2 separate regions of the Homo sapiens genome follow, and region 2 is linked to region 1. Evidence: promoter capture Hi-C in 16 types of primary human blood cells and fetal thymus (Javierre and others, 2016). All regions are on one chromosome and are shown on one strand. The core of a region is centred on a gene start or on the middle of the fragment in contact, and the rest is flanking DNA. Distances in the headings are between cores, read along the strand shown. Region 1 holds the start of GYS1 (glycogen synthase 1). Region 2 overlaps SLC6A16 (solute carrier family 6 member 16).

Evidence for each region. Contacts are between HindIII fragments. The CHiCAGO score rates a contact against its expected background, and 5 or more counts as called.
Region 2: a fragment that was not itself captured here is called in contact with the fragment with the promoter of GYS1 in region 1 in 1 of 17 cell types (endothelial precursors); the score reaches 5.1 in endothelial precursors.

The regions. Positions count from the first base shown.
Region 1 is chr19:48,991,467-48,994,637 of GRCh38, reverse strand. GYS1 (glycogen synthase 1) reads left to right here and starts at 1,329. Exons shown (of 16, transcript NM_002103.5): 1 at 1,329-1,643; 2 at 3,155-3,171. The coding sequence starts at 1,526. It overlaps RUVBL2 (RuvB like AAA ATPase 2), which reads right to left and starts at 751. Exons shown (of 15, transcript NM_006666.3): 1 at 715-751. The coding sequence starts at 726. RefSeq lists enhancers at 853-942, 1,633-1,772 and a silencer at 1,063-1,422. The HindIII fragment of the contact is 2,230 bases long and covers 1-1,417 here.
Region 2 is chr19:49,315,682-49,318,919 of GRCh38, reverse strand. The region is part of intron 1 of SLC6A16 (solute carrier family 6 member 16); the gene reads left to right. Among named protein-coding and RNA genes, the nearest start is that of SLC6A16, 7.9 kb to the left of the region's middle. The HindIII fragment of the contact is 3,441 bases long and covers 1-3,049 here.

The sequences.
Region 1 (3,171 bases), core at 80-2,579:
CTTTATTCAGGTAATTGAGCAGGTGCCAGGCCAAGTTTCCTGGCCTCTCCTTCATTCACATGTATTCATTCATTCAAATATTCAAGTGATAATTTATTGAGCATTTACACTGAGACGTAGCCCGTGTGAAATACTGGAAATATGAAAATGGCCAAAACGGTAGCATGACAAGATCCCGATTTCTGGGTCCCTAATCCTTCAGTCCTCTCCACTAAGACTCTCTTGTTCCTCGACAATTTCTTCCCACTAAAGGCTCACTAGGCGCCCTCGCGCTCTCAGACACACTGAACAGGTACCTGCCTGTGCTTCCAGCTTGGAACTCAAGTGCCATTGGCACCACTAACAATCCAAGGCTCCCAAATGGCTCGAAGCGCAAGGTCCTACAACCCTCCTCATCACACACTGGCGCCAAGGACTGCGGAACCGGCCGTTGCGCCAAGATGATTTTGAAAGTTGGAGTTCCTATAGCATGATGGGGCCAGACCCGAGATTCTGGGATCCCAGCCCCCTCCCCGCCTCAGATCCAGAAGTCCAGCCCCCATGTCCCCTTCTCCCCCAGATCTGGGTGGCCGAGCTTCCTCCTCTTTCAGACCCAGGAGTCTGAACCCCCAGATCCCCCCTCCCTCAGACCCAGGAGTCAGGGCCTCCAGCATCCTCCTCTCTCAAACTCGAGACTGCTAGCTCGCTCCTCACCCTCCATGCACCCACACTTACAACGGTTGCCATGATGCTCACCAACTGCCAGAGTCCTAGCGGAAACGGAAACGCGCGAGGAGCGAGATGTTCTGGCTCCTCTAGGCTAGCTGGTTCTTCAAAGATCTCGATGGTTCCTCATAAATATGTAAATATTGTGGGGGCGTGGCGGGACTTTATGCCCCGCCCTCCCACCGAGGCTGCGCTGGAAGACGGGCGTCCGGAACTCCTGGGTCCATTCCCAATGTCTCCTGGCTCCTCCTCCTTTTGCTCAGCCCCACCACCGCCCCGCTCAGGCCGATTGCAAAATTCTTAGCTGTTCTTTGAGTAACCACACGTCCTCCACGCTCCTTTCCTCTTTATCCCACCCTCCTCCTCCTCCCCACTTTGAGGCCTCCAGCTCCAGATTGACAGAGCTGAAGGCCACTCGTTTCCGTAAAGCGCAGCGGCAAGCTCCGCCCCCTGGAGGTCTCACGGCCGAGGCGGGGCCGGGACACAGCGACTCCAACCCGTTCCACCAATGAGGACACGCGGAAATCCCCGCCCCCGGGCGTGGGCCAATGGCGCTGGCTGGGGGGGGCGGCCACCGCCTCCTGGCGGCTGCGAGGTTTCACTGCAGGGGCGCCAGTGGGCTCAGTGACGCTGCGGCCTCCTTCTGCCTAGGTCCCAACGCTTCGGGGCAGGGGTGCGGTCTTGCAATAGGAAGCCGAGCGTCTTGCAAGCTTCCCGTCGGGCACCAGCTACTCGGCCCCGCACCCTACCTGGTGCATTCCCTAGACACCTCCGGGGTCCCTACCTGGAGATCCCCGGAGCCCCCCTTCCTGCGCCAGCCATGCCTTTAAACCGCACTTTGTCCATGTCCTCACTGCCAGGACTGGAGGACTGGGAGGATGAATTCGACCTGGAGAACGCAGTGCTCTTCGAAGTGGCCTGGGAGGTGGCTAACAAGGGTGAGCACGCCAGGCGTCGGGGCCCTTGACGAGAAGGACAGTAGTGGATGGGGGCCCGGAACTCTGAGTTGTAGGAGGACGGGGCTACTAGGGGAACCCTTGTGACCTGGGCAAGGAGGCTGTGTCCTTGAGGAGGGGCTGGGAAGCCGGAGGTGGGTGGGAGAGGGATGGTTCGTTTGACTTAAGATGAAAGGAGGCTGGAAGCCCGGGTTCTGGGTCCTAGGGAAGAGGGCGCTAAAATGAGACTCCTAGGTCCTGGAGGCAGGCTTCCGAGAGACTAGATACCTGGGTCCTGAACAGGGAAGGGGATGGGGGGATGGGATTTCTGCGTGCAAACCTGGGAAGCTGCCGGGGTTTCAGACCTATGACCCTAACAGCATGGTCTAGGGGATAAAACTCCAGATTTGAGAGAGAGCTGACTGGGAGATAGGAGGCCTGAGCGGCGGTGGGAGGACCTGAGGATCTGGCTGCTTAAGAATAAAGATGGGACGGGCTGGAGACTGTAATGAATGCCTGGGCTTTGAAGGAGCTGAGGGCCTGAGCTATTAGTTCCTAGGAGTAGAGGAGCCCATGGCCTGGGACACATGCGTACTGGAATAGGGGAAGGCTGGGAAGTCCTAAGTTAGTCAGAGGCTGGGCCCTAGGATGGGAGGGGCTAGGAGCCTGCATTTCTGTGTCTTGGGCTTCAGAAAGCTGAGGTTCTGGCCTTGGAGAAGGCTGGGGCTGAAATCCCCAGGAACAAGCCAATCTCACACCTCAAAGAGCAGGGTCTGGGGGGTTGCTTTGCTGGGTCTTGGAGGAGAAAGGGACTGTGTCTCCCAGGAGGAGAGGGGGCCCGTGAACACCCAGCCGGGTATCGCCAGGGCCTGGGCTCCAGGATGGGAGGAGGCTGGGGGCTGGGGCTCCTGGGTCTGGGATAGGGTCATGGGAGAGGCAGAGCCCTGCATGCTGGTGTCCCTAGTCAGGGAGAGGAAATTGGGAGGCAGGTCAGCAAGGTCCCTGGGGGCAGGGAATGACCATGCAGGCTTCTCTTGGGCAATGGTGAGAAGCTGGATTGGCCATGAGGGGGTCTCCCTCACTGGGTTTTGGAGCCTGGCTGCGATTTAAACCCAGCTCCTGTGAGCTGGGAACTCGGGAACCTGAGTCCGGGTAGTCAGTCCTCAGCTCTGCCATCCTTAGAGCCCCAGTGCCTAATTCCTTCAGACCAAGGGGTCCCGGCACCCAGCCCCTTCTCTCTCAGACCCAGAAGTCTAGCCTGAGCCCCCTCCTCCTTCAGGGTCCTGACCCCAGCCCCCTTCTCCCTTAGACCCAGGAGGACTGCCCTCCAGCCCTCGTGTTCCCCTCATCCAAGCTTCCAACCCCTACTCCAAACTATGGGCTCCCAGTCCCCTCTTCCCCCTGAGCTAGAGGTCTGGGGCCTGAGTGCCCCCTACATCCCCGGCCCACCCCACCCCAGGCCCCAGAACTATGGACCTCGGCCGGGGCCTGCCCTCACACGCTTGGGCCCACAGTGGGTGGCATCTACACG
Region 2 (3,238 bases), core at 80-2,579, 320 kb before region 1:
CCAACATGGCAAAACCCTGTCTCTACTAAAAAAAAAAAAAAAAAAAAAAAATAGCCAGTTGTGGTGGTGCACACCTGTAATTCCAGCTACTTGGGAGGCTGAGGAAGGAGAATTGCTTGAAACTTGGAGGCAGAGGCTGCAGTGAGCTGAGATCAGTGTGGGCAACAGAGTGAGACTCTGTCTCAAAAGAGAAAATATCTATCTGTCTGTCTAGCTAGCTAGCTATCTAGCTATCTTATATTCCTCATTCTGTTCATGTTTTCCTTTTAAGTCCTTGACCATATTAAGCATATTTGTAACAGCTATTTTAGTGTTATGGTGTGTTAATTCCATTAGTCTATCATTTCTGTTTTTGTTGTCTGATTATGGGTCACTTTTCCTGCTTTTTTGCATGTCTAGTAATTTTTGACTAGATGGTTGACATTATGAATTTTTTGTTGTTCAGTGCTAGGTTTGTCTGTATTATCTTAAGGAATGTTGGCCTTTGTTGTGACAGGCAGTTAAGTTACTTGAAGATCAGTTTTGGCTGTTTAAGGGTTGCTTTTAAGAATTTTTTTTTTTCAGGTCTAAAGTAGTCCTACTACTAGAACTAGAGCTAGTTTATGCCACTTTAAATGTTCCAAGTATTCAGTAAAGTCTCTCCACACTGGCTGATGGAAACTTGAGTAATTCTTGTTCTTCTCCAAGTTCTAGGAATTGTTTTACCTGTAGTTCCCCAGTACTTTTCTTTCCTTGGAATTTATTCTTTGCCTGTTCTTATGAGGTTTCATACTATACATGTGCAGGTTGATATTTAGCTAATGGCTCGAAGGTACTTTATCCAGATTCCTAGAGCTCTTTCTCTGTGGCTCCCTTCTGTTGAGTACTTAGCCCAGCTAATTCTAGTCACCTAAGCCTTCCTGAACTGACTTTTGCCTCCTCAAGTGCTGAGACTGCCAGGCTCTGTTTGTATTCTTCCTCCTGTGCCAAAGTTTGGAAATTAGCAGAAAAATGGGGCAATCGTGCAATTAGTTACCTTGTTTTCTGGCCTTTTTTTAGAGATTGCAATGCTGTACTGCCTTTGTTTAATATGTGAAAATAGTTGTTTTAATTATTTGTACAGTTTTTTTTTTTTGAGACGGAGTCTCGCTGTGTTGCCCTGGCTGGAGTGCAGTGGTGCGATCTCTGCTCACTGCAAGCCCCACCTCCTGGGTTCACGCCATTCTCCTGCCACAGCCTCCCGAGTAGCTGGGACTACAGGCGCCCGCCACCATGCCCGGCTAATTTTTTGTATTTTTAGTAGAGATGGGGTTTCACCATGTTAGCCAGGATGGTCTTGATCTCCTGACCTCGTGGTCCGCCCGCCTCGGCCTCCTAAAGTGCTAGGATTACAGGCGTGAGCCACGGCGCCTGGCCTATTTGTACAGTTTTGTAGTGTTTTTGTGGAGGTAACTCCAGACACTGTTTTGCTTTCATGGTCAAAAGTGGAAATTTCTTCTCCCCATTTTTATCTGGATCCTGTATATCCTTCATTTCTATGTTTTCTTAAAATTATCTTTTAATTAATTAATTTTATTTTATTATTATTGTTATTATTTTTGAGATAGGGTCTTACTCTGTTGCCCAAGCTGGAGTGCAGTGGTGCAATCTTGGCTCACTGCAACCTCCCCCTCCTGGATTCAAGTAATTATCTCACCTCAGCCTTCCGAGTAGCTGGGGCTACAGGTGTGTCCCACCATGCCTGGCTAATTTTTGTATTTTTTGGTAGAGATGGGGTTTCACCATATTGGCCAGGCTTGTCTTAAACTCCTGACTTCAAGTGATCCTCCTGCCTTGGCTTCTCAAAGTGCTGGGATTACGGGCATGAACCACTGCACCTGGCCTATTTTATTTTATTTTTTTAGAGAATGAGGTCCCACTCTGTTGCTCAGGCTGGAGTTCAGTGGTGTGATCATAGCCCACTGCAACCTTGAACTCCTGGGCTCAAGCGATCCTCTCCACTTAGCCTCCCAAATAGCTGGGACCACTGGCGTGTCCCACTATGCCTGGCTAATTTTAATTTTAATTTTTTTTTTTTTTTTTTGGTAGAGATGGGTTTTCACTGCATTGTCAAGGCTTATCTTGAATTCCTGGCCTCAAGTGATCCTCCTGCCTTGGCCTCCCAAAGTACTAGGATTACAGGCATGAGCCACTGTGTCTGGCCTATCCTTCATCATTCTTGTTCTTGTATTGCTCAATTTGGCTTTACTCACAGGAATTTCTCCTCATTGTGGCCTCTGGGTTGGAAAAGATCCCTGGTTGGTTAATTTTAAGAGTTCATAGAATCTAGTCTGCCCTGGTCCCTTCAGTTTCTATTGTTGACTCCATGCACTCAACTGTTATTGGATTAGGCAAGACATCTTCTAGTTTTAGCTGCTGTTCTCTAATAGCCTTCCCATGATTTCTGGTGAGTACCTGTTGATTATTTTGAGAGACTGGTTTCCCTGTCCCCCATCCCCAGGTCTGTCAGATGCTCTCTTGCTTCCTTTGTTTCCTCCCACACAGATGCTGATTCTATACAGGTCTGTGGCTCTTGTGGTTTGTTCTCATAGACTTGTCTTTTGGGGTTTATCTTGATATTGTAAATATTATCCATGGATTTTGGGCTTGCAATCTAGTAGAACTACTTGTTTTCATGTGAGTATTTGGGAAGATTTTAAAACAATGTTGCTGTTATTGCCATTACCTTCCCAGGATTTTACTCTATATTTAAAAAATTATTTTATAAGTGGCATTATTATTTTAAAATTTTATTTTCTAATTATGTATTGCAAGCATAGACATATAAATAATTTTCATTTATTGCTGTTTGCATCCAACAATCTTGCTAAATTATCTTATTAATTTAAATAATTTATCTGTAGTATTCTGGATCTTCCACATAGATATATCATCTGTGAATAGTGAGTTTTGTTTAATCTTTGTCTTTTATTCCCCTTGCTTTCCTGTGTTGTCTAAAATATTTAATGCAATGGGAAGGAAGTGCTGATAGCTGGTTTCATTGATTGTTCTTGATTTCAAAAGGCAAGCTTTCTTCACTTCATTATTAAATATGTGCCTATGTTTAAGCATATGTTCACTATTAAGTATAATCTTTTTTTTTTGAGAGACACCATTTATCAGGTTAGGGAAATTATTCCTGGTTTGCTAAAAGTTTTTCTCCGTAAATCATCATTGTATTGTATGTTTTTCCTATATCTCTTGAGATGATAATATTTTT